Regions from separate parts of the Homo sapiens genome. Here regions 1 and 3 are each linked to region 2. The links are contacts of gene promoters, found by promoter capture Hi-C in blood cells and fetal thymus (Javierre and others, 2016). All regions are on one chromosome and are shown on one strand. Each heading gives the region's core, a stretch centred on a gene start or on the middle of the fragment in contact. The rest is flanking DNA. Distances are from core to core; before and after follow the strand shown.

Region 1 (3,904 bases), core at 605-3,104, 1.2 Mb after region 2:
CACTGATTGTTTCGTAAAGGCAGGGGACTTTGATTAAAAAAGTGAAAGTAATTTTCTGAAATGTCATTAGAGGCCTAAGAGGACTATGCACAGTGAAACACCCTGAAGTGGGTGGTTCTATAGCACTGAGACACCTCAAGTGTGCTCTACCAAGTGTAGCTGGGGTGGCACAGATACACAGAGGCCTCTGACTAGGATGCCCAGGGGCCTGGAGAGGAAGCTGCTCATCTGCAGGACTTACCCTTGGGAGGTTCCTGGGCTGGCAATGCCTGGGAGAAGATAACCCAGGATATAGTCAGGGGTCCTGGATTTGAGACCCAACTCTGGTACTTAATAGTTATTTGTTTCCTTGCCTGCCTAGACTCAGTTTTGTTATTTGTAAGTTGGCAATGAGACTAGCTTTTCTGTGTTGATGTGAAGATGAAATTATATATGGATGCACTAACTGTAAAGTGCTATAAATTGAATGATTATTATTGGAGAGCATGTGCAAAGAACATCTAAATGAGATTTTATTCACTGTGCATTATTAATTTTCCTTTCTAAAAATCAGTGTCTCCTGCCACTAATTTATCATTATAATAATTCTTATTCATTTTAGATAATGAGAGAAATCACAATGATGCTTTCTGGTGGAATGACTCCTTTAGTTAAATAAATCTCCAAGTGCTTAAAGGTGAATTTCCCTCTGGCTTTAAGAGATTGATGGCTTATACTATCTTACAGTTAGTTGAAAAAAGTTCATTGTCCGTTTTAGCCTTGGGGAGTATGCTCTCAAACTGTAGTCACAAAATAATTTCACTCTGCTGTATAAGAAGCTCAATTCAAGTAAACCAAATTTATTGAAAACTTCCTCTTGCCAGGAACTATGTTAATGAAGGACCATTCAGAGATGAATGTGACCTTCACCCTACTATTTAGGGGCTCACTCTGGTGGAACAAGTAGACACACATACAAAATTCAGTGCAACATAATGAGGGATCAGTTCTAAAATAGAAGTATTATTTTGTGCCATTGGAAATGGAAGAAAGAAAAAGCTAATTCTGAACTGAGGGTATGTGGGACATACAAGTAGAGAAGGTACAGTCCAAGCTTGTATAATCCATGGCCCGTGGGCCTCATGCAGCCCAGAATAGCTTTGAATTTGGCCCAACACAAATTTATAAACTTTCTTAACACATTATGAGATTTTTTGGTGATTTTTTTTTTTAAGACAAAGTCTCGCTCTTGTTGCGCCAGGCTGGAGTACAATGGCATGATCTCAGCTCACTGCAACCTCTGCCTCCTGAGTTCAAGCGATTCTCCTGCCTTAGCCTCCCAAGTAGCTGGGATTACAGGCACCTGCCACCACGCCCAGCTAATTTTTGTATTTTTAGTAGAGACGGGGTTTCACCATGTTGGCCAGGCTGGTCTCGAACTCTGACCTCAGGCGATCCACCTGCCTCAGCCTCCCGAAGTGCTGGAATTACAGGCGTGAGCCCCCACACCCAGCCGGTGATTTTTTTTTCAAGCTCATCAGCTACTGTTAGTGTTAATGTACTTTATGTGTGGCCCAAGACAATTCTTCCTCTAATGTGGCCCAAGGAAGCCAAAAGATTGGACACCCCAGAAACAGTCTTGAAAACTTACTAGAACTTTGGCAGAATTAGAGAGGGAAGGGCCTGTTGGAGCAATGGAGAGCTTAGAGATTTTGGGGGGAAAAATCTTTTTGGGGGAATGGCAAGGGTCTGAAGCTTATTGGAAGACAGTCATGAACAAGCGGTCTGGAGCCAGACGAGTGCGGAGGACCCTTGAGAAACAGATGAGGTTTGGTTTTATTCTGTAGACAAAAGTGCCTTTGGAGGTGTCAGAGTAGATCAGATCAGAGCACAGCTTTTGTGAGAAAAGTGTGTCAGTCGTAAGCAAATGTACGGTGCCTTGCTTTCTTTTCCTGCTCCCCAGCAGGCTGGGTTTTAGGAAGGAAAGGCTGAGCAAAAGCTTAGGAAATGGATCTGACTGACTACTCCCACAAACCATTCTTGACCTTCTTTTGTAAATACCCAATTACCTGTTCATTTCCCCAATTAACTCATCAGTGAAATCAAATCAATCATTATTAATTCTAACTTTAATAAACATTTTTTAGTTTACATATATGATGCTCTTCCTCAAATCATAAATAACTGCATGATGTGTGTGAACTTTCCAAAGGTAGTTTAGGTGGAGAAAAAAATGACATTCAGTTAACAAGCTTATCAGAAGCTGAATCATTACAAATGACAGATATTAAAAATGTAATTAGAATATATATTGTCTAGGAAGACATGCCATATTAATTAGGGGTAAAAAGCCTATGTTTCAGCTCTCAGAATATAAAGTTGAAAGAAGCCTGTGGATTAATATCCATAATCATGGGCAGCGTTGTAGCATGGTAGGTTAGCACAGCACTGTAGTGTCAGAGCACCTGAGTTAAATCCTGGTTCTGTCCCTGTGAGCTATGTGACCCCAGGTAAGTATATAATCTCACTGAGCTTTAGCTTACCCACCTGTAAAGGTTAGATGAAAACAGCATTCTATCTCAGAGTTGCAAAGACTAGGTGAGCTAATATATTAATAAGTAGAACTCTCAGAACAGTGCCTGCTGTATCATAGATGCTATGTAAGTATTACCTATCATTATTTACTTTTTTTTTTTTTTTTTGAGACAGGGTCTTGCTCTGTCACCCAGGCTGGAGTGCAGTGCACAATCACAGCTCACTGCAGCCTCAACTTCCCAGACTTAAGCTATTCTCCCACTGCAGCCTCCTGAGTAGCTAGGACTACAGGTGCATGCTGCCGTACTCAGCTAATTTTTGCATTTTTGTAGAGCTAGGGTTTTGCCATATTGCCCAGGCTAGTCTCAAATTCCTGTGCTCAAGCAATCCTCCCTCCTTAGCCTCTCCAAGTACTGGGATTACAAGTGTGAGCTACCTTGCCCAGCCAGCTATCATTATTATTATTTATTTTCCCTTCACCTGCAAGGAAGAAGGGAACCCAAATGTGCTTGCGGACTTACTATGTAACACTTTTATCATTATTTCCTCATTTAACTTAATATGCTCACTCTTTACATAGGTTGTTATTATTAACCAAGATTATATCTATAAGGAAATTATGAGGAATTAAGTGACCTTTGTGGGGTCACTCAGCCAGAAAGTGGCCCACTGAGATCCAGGATGATCTGGTCCCAAGTTCCCAGCTAGCACAATGAACTCCCTTATATTGAGACTGTTGTAGGCAAGAGTGATTGTTCCAGTTTACTATGACCAATTTGACTAGGCATGATGGATTATTAATGATGGGAATAAATATATTTTCCTTTCCTGTTTTATTTGCTGTAATATAAGCAGTGCAAGACACTTTAACAGACTGGAGTGCTGAGTTGCCTGGTGCTCCACAGATATGATTCATTGTCGGTTCCATTGTAGATACAGACTGAGACAGACAGGAGGCAGCCCAAGAAAACTAGTAACAGCCTCTTGCTGATACTTCATGACCCTAAGGGAGAATGAAGCAGCAACTGAGGTTGAAGAAAATCCACCTGATAGGTTTAGTCAGTGAATGATTACAACCGCTTACATGTGGAGAGCTGAATAGTCACAAAGCCCTTTCCCATATTTACATATTCTCTACTCCTCATAACAACCTGAGATTGCTCAGGCAAGAATCATCACTGGGTTTGACTATTGAAACCAAGAAGGCCTGTAAGCAGCAGAGCGGATTTTGAACTTGGGCCTTTTCTCATTCAATTTTGCTAACTATCATAGTAGAGAAAAGAATGTCAACGTAAAAGGCAAAGTAAATAACTCTGACTTTGAGATGAACATAATGGGTATCCTTTAGATGCTGAGAAGGGTTTTATGGTTCTGTACTAGCACTGTTTGC
Region 2 (3,949 bases), core at 684-3,183:
CCAACCCAGAATTGCTTCACCTACATCAAGTTAGGCCTCACATCTTAAATTCAAAAATATCAGATCTGGGGGCAGGCGAGCTTAAGAAGCATCTAGTCAGCCCTTTATTTCACTGAGAAGAGACAGAAGCCCAGATAGTAAGAGAGGCATCCATGTACACACAGCTAGTTAGAGGCAGAGCCAGTGCTCAGCACATAACAGGTACCCAATAGATGCTTCTTGAGTTGATGGAACTGACATGAATCAGCCAACCTCTGGTTTTCTGTCTTTTTTTCACAAGGCAGGTTTACTCCAATAATTCCAGGTCTTGGGACAAGAGTACAAACGTAAGCTCCCTACCCACATCTTGCCTCCTCTGTTCCCACCCTCAGCACCATTCTGCACCATGAGAAGCTTCACACACATACACGTGAACAACCCAGCCTTTGTGTCCATGTTCTGGCTACATCTCCAGAGCACAGCCACTTACTGGCCTCTCTTGAATCCAAGGACACAGGAAAAAGGCCTGCACAGACACTACAGATGGACTTGAGGTAGTCTGGGGAGGAATTTCTGTAGTCCCAGTCCCCAATCATGATCTAAAAGGAGGAAAGGCATGTGGACTTTAGACGGCCTCGTCCCCTTGGCCTCAAGGACTCTTTGCCCTGTGGTAGATGTGCAGCTCCTATAAAGAGTGGGACCCTGGGCTCTAAGTTCCTAAAGAAAGTTTTGCTCAAAGCTAAATCTTTTTATCACAGGTGCATAGATAATAGAGCTAGAGTGGATTGGATCTATTATCTAAGACCAACCCCCTCATTTTGTAAATATAAAAACTGAGAGCCAGAAAGGGAAACAGACTTGCCAAGTTTACAAGGCTACTTAGCTATATAGAGCCAGTTCGTAGCACACAGCAGGTGGTCAATAAATGTTTATGTATTCAGATCAAATTGGATTAATTCACTAAACATATCTAGGAACAGAGCATAGCTGTACCCCCTGCATTCCCCCAACTCCTAGATTAAAACTTTCCCCAATGGACCTCATGGCCTCCTTCCTTCAGTTCCAACTCACTCTAAATGTCAGAGATTGCAGGGACATAGATGATATTACAGCTCTTCATTTAATGTGGACAACTAAGACCCAAAGATGGAACATAACTTTCTCAGGGTCACCCAGGGAGTTAGTGGTATTGCTAGGATTAAAAGCAAGAACTCTCTGACCCAGCCGGCTGTCTTTGTCTTTTTCCCCATCTGAGCTGACACCAGAATAAGCCCGCGACTGGGCTCTGTCTCTCCTTGGAAAGTACCCCACAGCTGTGACCCAGGGGCTGTCTGCAAGGTCCCTCCCCACTGAACCTCTCACCTGCCTGAGGCGTGCTGCTCCAGGTACTGCTTCCAGCCAGGGGCCAGCTCACTGGGCTTGAGGTTGGGGTCTATGATGAGCTCCCAGCTGTCCGCTGGCTTTGCCACCTCCATCTTCTCATAGAAGACTTTCTTCCACTCACAAGTGGTCAAGCTGGTACACATGGTCCTGCTGGCAGAGGTGGCAGTTCGAGCTCAGCCCTGGTGAGAACACAGAAAGAGCACGGATAGGTACGGGACAATTCAGTGTCTACGGTCAGAATCCTCATCGGCAGGACTGGGAGTAAACAGGACCCAGCTCCCTCCTCTGTTACCCTGGAACCTGTTACCATGGTAGCCAGGCAGGGCACCAAGAGTGAGGGCTGGGGAGAAGGGAAGCCCCAAGGGGGAGTTTCAGGGCCCTGAGTTAGGCTTCAGAGGCAGCGCTGGGTAGGCCTGAGAGGAGCAAGCACAGTGGGAGGCCCAACCTCAGACCACACTCATCTGGATTTCCAGAGGTCTCCAGGAGGCAAGGACTATTTGGTGGCCCTGCTTCACCCAACTGCTCTTCTAGCATTCTCCACATCATGTGCTATGGTAAGTACGACACCCTAGGAAGTCAAGGAGAAATGAGGGACAGGGAAAGGCAGAGCCTGCTGCTTCCACACCCCCTGATATGCTGTGACCATCACTTACCATGTGCCTAGCACAAACCGCTTGACCTGTGTGCTGGCCAAAGCAGATCAGATCAGGAAACTGAAGTTTATGCAACCCCTAAGTGGCTCATCCAAGATTCAGATCTAGGCCTTCTGAAACCGAGCTCATTTGTTTATTTATTTTAGTACTATTGTGCTCCTAACAGGGAATTGAGTGAGAAGTAACATCTCTTTGCCCAGGGCAATCTTAGACCAGTTGGTGAGCTAGAATGTAATTTCATATGCCATGCAAAGCACAGTAATAACATTTCAGATTCATAGCGTCATAGAACTGTTAGAGCCCATATTCAGTTCCTGGTCCCAAGCCAGGCTAAGGTGGCTGCTGGGGTAATGAGTTTGTTCTGTGCTGCAGGCTCCTGCTGCCTCCATTACTGCTGAGCTGGAGCAAGAGAGCATCCGTAGCTCTGTGATGCCCAATTCAAATTCTTTAGAAACCAGAGGGGAATCTGACTTCAAATTTGGTAATCCAAGTGAAGACACGGTTACCTGAAGGGAGGCTGCCTTGAGCATGGAAAAGACCAGGCATATGGCTGCTTACCCTAGCTTTGGTCCAACTTCCAACTGTAATCATCTTACGATTCTTTAACCCGGAAGTCTGGATCCCTAGACACGCAGAGTTCCAACAGTAAAGAGCTTCAAGAAGTGAAACAGGTTGCTAAGAACCGGAAGCTCTTGGTGTTGAGTTGCCAAGTGGTTTTCAGGAAGTGTGAAGTCAGGGACAATGTCACTGGATTCTCTCTTGAAATGAAAAGTGTTACTCTAGCGGCTTTGTGCTAAAGACCTCAGAAAGGACACAATTGTCTTTGAACCATTGACTGACAGCTCTAGAAGAGCTCTTTTATTTTTAAAAATCTGGTTTATTTCTTGAACTCTTCATTTCTTAACCAAAATTTATTGACATTGAATTAAAACAACTGAGGCCTGGAAATGGAAAATTACTGGCCCAGGCTCTCAGGACTGGGTAGCTCAAACCTCACTGGGGATTCCCTTAGAAGCCAGTTACCAGACCAGGTGAGACAGAGGGATCCATGAATGGCCAGGAACTGAACGAAGCTGAGATGAGCTTATGGCCTGGCCTAGACCCTCGTGCCAGGAAAGAACCTCTGAGAAATAGTATACCCTTGTTCCCAGAACAAATGGCAATAAAGGAAAAACAGAAAGAGGATGAGAATTGTCAGGGTTTACCTGTATTTTCTTTTTTCCTCAAATAATGCAATCCCCTTAGGCCTAGTATCAGGTTTAATTTAGCATAGCAGCTTCTAAGCAGAGACCAATAGAATTCATCTTTCTGTGTAACAGCACTGTTTTCACTTTTCATACAATCAGTGAGCACAATTACTACTTCAATTTTCCGCGAATGACACTATCTTATTCCAGAACCCACGATTTAAGAGCTCACAAATGTATATTGTGTACAGCTGTGGCCACATCACACTCTGGCAGCTTCATTATACATATTTTGTCTAGGCAATACTTTTTCAAATAAAGAAATTGTTATTTCTTTATAAAATAAAATACTGAGCACCTGTATTCTGCAAACAAATCAGCAAGGGGGAGGGGATGGATAAAAGAATCACTTTTCCCCTTCAATTTGGAATGCAAGTTAATGAAGAGCTTTGTAAAATATTTATTATTCAATTTTACTTATTAGAGTAATGTAAGAAATGCCAGTGTGGAGCTTAAAATGACAAAGTAATGAAGAGTTGAAAAGGTGTGTACATCAAAATCACCTGGAGAGTTCTGAAAACTGTATACACCTCTGCTTCAGAGATTTCAATACATGTTCTTGAGGAGACAAATTTGCTCTCCACCTACTCCAGTCCTGGGAAGAATCCCTTCTATTGCCAGCCATTGTTACTGATGGGATATGTTGTCCCACAGGCTACTGGAGGCCAAAAATGAAAAACAAAAAAA
Region 3 (4,215 bases), core at 214-2,713, 1.1 Mb after region 2:
GACTGAGCTAATCATTGTTTTCTTTTATTACAGAACACAAAAACTATATTTTAATAATATACCTGGGTAACTAAAAAATTCTCAGTCATGTTACCTTAGCGTTTTACAATGCTACTTACTTAATCTACCTGTTAAACTATTCTCTGGTAGAGTAATTTGATGAATGAACACAGACTTTTTTCATCTATTGTAAATTTCTTTGCTATCCTTCAGCATGATTTTAATCTTTGTTTAACACATGTTGATGGGAAAAGTAGTGTTTTTTGTTTGTTTGTTATGTAAACCCACAAAACAGTCATGGTTTGTCCCTCAGTGCCCAGAGATTTCAACATAAAAGACACCTTGGTTTCTTTACCAAGGTATTGGGAGTCATACTTGGCTTTACAAGGTTCACATTTATTGAAGACGTTTTTGGCCTGGTTGGTATTTTCCTATAACTTGGCAGCTCTAACCCATTGTAACCTTGGGGTCTGTAGCACAGATCTGAAAGTTCATCAAGATTAAGGCTTCGTAGGATTAAATATGGCTTTGCATCTGTCTTAGGTTCAATTTTATTTCGTTTTCTTTCCAAAGGTAACTTAATACATGTAACATCATTTCTTTCCAAAGGTAGCTTAAACACATGTAGAGCCATACAGTGGTAGAGTTGGAAAAAAAATCTTAAAATCATTTGCGTAATTACTCTCTTTAGCAATGAGAATGCCAAGACATACAGAAGAGGAAAGCGACTTCGTATGACCTATCATTAGTGTCAGAACCAAGGCTGCATTCCGTTATTCACGCTCCACAGTCTTAGATTCTTTGCAGATGCTACATGGTTTTCATTTTCCTAAACATAAAGATAAACAAAGTAATGTACTGTTGATCTGGAAGGAGCAATTATGCATAAGCGAAAGTCTAGTAAACAAAAGCTTACCTCTTTAGAATATAAGAATATTTCAAATATCTTTGAAATCTTTATTGAAAAAAGAAAGGCATTACATAATTCCTTGCCTTTTTAAACAGACTAAACCGGGTGTCATTCACAATGGCTTGGCACCACGTTTATGAAATTATTTATTGCCACGAGCCCTAAGGTAGTGATGTTGGCAGAGTGTGTAGAGGCACCCAGGGTTGTCCTTACACCAAGTAAACACATACTGCTGTGTTTTTTTATAGCTCCTGTCTATTTTTTATCCCTTTTTGACTCCATAGTTGATTTTTGCTACTTTAATGATGCTACTGTGGCAGCAGCCTTCTTCAGTTGTTTTGTTTCAACCCTTGTTAGCTTGAAATCATATAGACAGTATTGGGAAACAGTGTAACAGGGTGGGAAGAACATGAATTTGAATTTCGTTACGTCACTTAGTGCCTCCCCTCCTTGGGAAAATTATTTACTCTTTCTAAGTATCAGTTGCCTCATCTATATAATGGGGACGATGGCAGTTATTTTCCATGAAGAAGAAATGAGACAATCCTAGTAAAGCACACTGGGCCTCTTCAGGAAAAGTAGTGGAATAAATGTTATTCTGGGATTAACTTTAATGATGTTTCTGAAACTGTTTAATATTTCTGAATGTGGGAACCTTACATGTGCAGTGAAATTCACTGGGCTTTAGGAAATTATTATAACCTTTCAGACATACTCCTCGCATTTTTACATGTTTGCTTGCTTTTCTGAGTGCGTAACAAAACTGGAGAAGGTCTAATCTGATTAAATAATAGGTTTCTACAGTGTGTGGGCTCAAGTTTCTATCTCCATTCCAGGCATAGTATGGGTCTCTGTGATTCTGTAGGATGCCAGCCCCTTCTTCTTTGGTTTGTTGTTACTATACTATGCTTATGAGAAGGAAAACTATCCGGGAGATATTTAATCGCGTACTTGGAAGAACTGGGTGAATTCAAATAATGGAAATTCTAACCATTTTTTTTTTTTTACTTCTTTCCCTCATAAGAACATTTAATCAAGGTTTTTCTTTAATGAGATCTATTCGTGGTGACTCTAAAATGTAATTTAATTCTTATCAGAATTCAGTTAAGCTTTACCAAAGACCCTTGTTCAATATTGATTCGAGTTCAGCACAGTCCTCAAGCCCTCAGATGGATGTATCAGAACTTTAATTTCTTCTGAACTTTTATATGTCCAATAAGCTGCATACTAGAAGTGTAAGGAGGTTGAGGAAATTGGGCAAATGAAATAAAACAAGTTGGCTTTGAAGATAGTTTGCATTAAGGAGAATCCTAGAACTATGCGTCTCTCTTGGAACCAAAAGCCTTAGAACAGGAAGCATATTCTGTGTGATCCAGCAAAATTGCCTTTGGTTACACTGTTGAAAACTGATGTCTAAAAGGTATTCCATACAAACCAGAGCAAACCTAGCCCTTGGCCATCAGTCAGTGTGCCTGTCTTTTTTTTTTTTTTAATTGATGGAATGAGAATATTCAAGATAGTGGCTTAATTATTTTTGTATAAGGACCAGCATGTTTGATACTCTGAGTTCAGGAATGAGACCAGTCTAATGTAAATTAAATTTACTTCTGCCTAAATTGGTTGTTGATCAACTTAAGATCCTATTAAAATTAAAAATTTACATGATTTTGAGGGAAAATGCACCAGTAATGTCTGCAGCTTTGGTTCAATGATTTTTAATATTTTCCTGTGGTTTATTGAGTTTGTTCTTAATCTTTGTGCTTAAGTAGTTATGATTAAACAGTTTGATTCAGTATAGCATTGTAATTCTCTTTAATCATTTTACATATTTTGTTTTCTATTTTTTATTTATTAACATAATACAAATGTTCATATAGTTTTGCATTGTTAGTATTCATTTTTAGATTTTTATCTGTTTAGTTTTACATTTAGATTACACACTTCATTTTAAAACCATTTGCCAGTCAAAATGTATTGTGTGTTTTGCAATCTTTTAGAATTGTAAATAACATGCCTATAGATAGTTAATAAAAATTTTATTTTTTATTTTGAATTACATCCTTAGCATAAATTCTTTGATTTATATTACCAAATCAAATTTAATCTGGAGGACTTTTGCATTACCTTGCTAGATTTCTTTAGAAATATTTTTCTAATTTACAGAACCATCAACAATAATGAAACTATATGTTAAAATGCAAACTATCCCCTATGGCAGAAGTTTATTTATATTTTCTGAACTAATTTAATAAGCACATTATGTCTTAGTTATTTTAAGTTTGTGTAATTATTAGCAAAATCAATGAGATGCTTTTCTTCTTTGGTGATATGTCTCTTGAAAGCCTAGTTTTGGTTATTCTTATAGATTTGAATATGTAAACAGATTAAAGTAAAGATCACTAAAACTTTGTTAGGAAGTGATATAAATAGAATGTATTTATCCTAATTCTAGCTCTCCTGGTGTGACCTTGGGTAAATCATTTAGCTTCTGAGTATCAGTGTCCTCATTTACTAAAGGGAGATATTAATTTCTCCCATGTCTTCACAGATAAGGAATAAGCAGTTGTGATATTTTGTATACATGAAATTATTTACTAATATAAGTGCTTAATCTGATTAACAGAATTTTTATCATTGCTTTTTTTTTCCCCTTTAGTATAATGTGATACACTATAGAAACCCTCTAAATCTGGGGCAATTTCTTGGCTGTAGTTGCTATGGAAATACTGAAATAAATAAATGTCATGGAAGGAATATAAGGACACATATTAAAAGCGGAGGTTCATGCTTTGCTTAAGAAGATTTTTATGTTGGTATGAATATGAAGGGCAGCAACAGTGCCTCCTGCTTATGTACCCTTCTGCACATAAAGAGACAGCCTTACTCATAAGTATAGTTTTAGAAAAAGAATTGCTGTTTTATTCCTAGCATTACCAAGGAGTCTGGGCCTAGGGACAGAGTGCATCAGAAATTCTCAGCAAAAGTCTATTTATGAAGTGGCAGCCAAGGATCCTCCCCCAAACCAGTGCTTTTATTCCCAGTGGATGGACTCCAGGTCCTAACTCTCTGACAGCAGAAGGTGGTACAGACATTTTTACTAGAGTTGAAATCCAAATGACTAAAGGGCCTCTGGAAATAGGAGGCCAACTCCACAGGAGGCTAAACACTTTAAGGTACCTGAAACTTGGCGCATTAGTGACCAACACACTAGCAGCCTTTTGCTCCCTTATGTCATCAAATGGCTACAGTTAAAACATTCTAACTTGTCAGCCTACATTAAGAGGTAGTTTTGTACCTCTGCAGGA

What was found. The method cuts DNA at HindIII sites, captures the fragments that hold promoters and counts their contacts. A CHiCAGO score of 5 or more calls a contact.
Region 1: a contact is called between a fragment that was not itself captured here and the fragment with the promoter of RTP2 in region 2, in 5 of 17 cell types (fetal thymus, naive B cells, total B cells and 2 more). The highest score is 8.5, in fetal thymus.
Region 3: a fragment that was not itself captured here is called in contact with the fragment with the promoter of RTP2 in region 2 in 1 of 17 cell types (neutrophils); the score reaches 6.0 in neutrophils.

The regions. Positions count from the first base shown.
Region 1 is chr3:188,933,356-188,937,259 of GRCh38, forward strand. No RefSeq gene overlaps it. Among named protein-coding and RNA genes, the nearest start is that of TPRG1-AS1, 12 kb to the right of the region's middle. The HindIII fragment of the contact is 244 bases long and covers 1,733-1,976 here.
Region 2 is chr3:187,700,624-187,704,572 of GRCh38, forward strand. It overlaps RTP2 (receptor transporter protein 2), which reads right to left and starts at 1,934. Exons shown (of 2, transcript NM_001004312.2): 1 at 1,342-1,934. The coding sequence starts at 1,505. LOC100131635 (hCG1645011-like) reads left to right here and starts at 1,743. Exons shown (of 3, transcript NR_034062.1): 1 at 1,743-1,916. The HindIII fragment of the contact is 5,389 bases long and covers 392-3,949 here.
Region 3 is chr3:188,760,865-188,765,079 of GRCh38, forward strand. All of the region lies in intron 9 of LPP (LIM domain containing preferred translocation partner in lipoma), which reads left to right. Among named protein-coding and RNA genes, the nearest start is that of MIR28, 74 kb to the left of the region's middle. The HindIII fragment of the contact is 1,108 bases long and covers 910-2,017 here.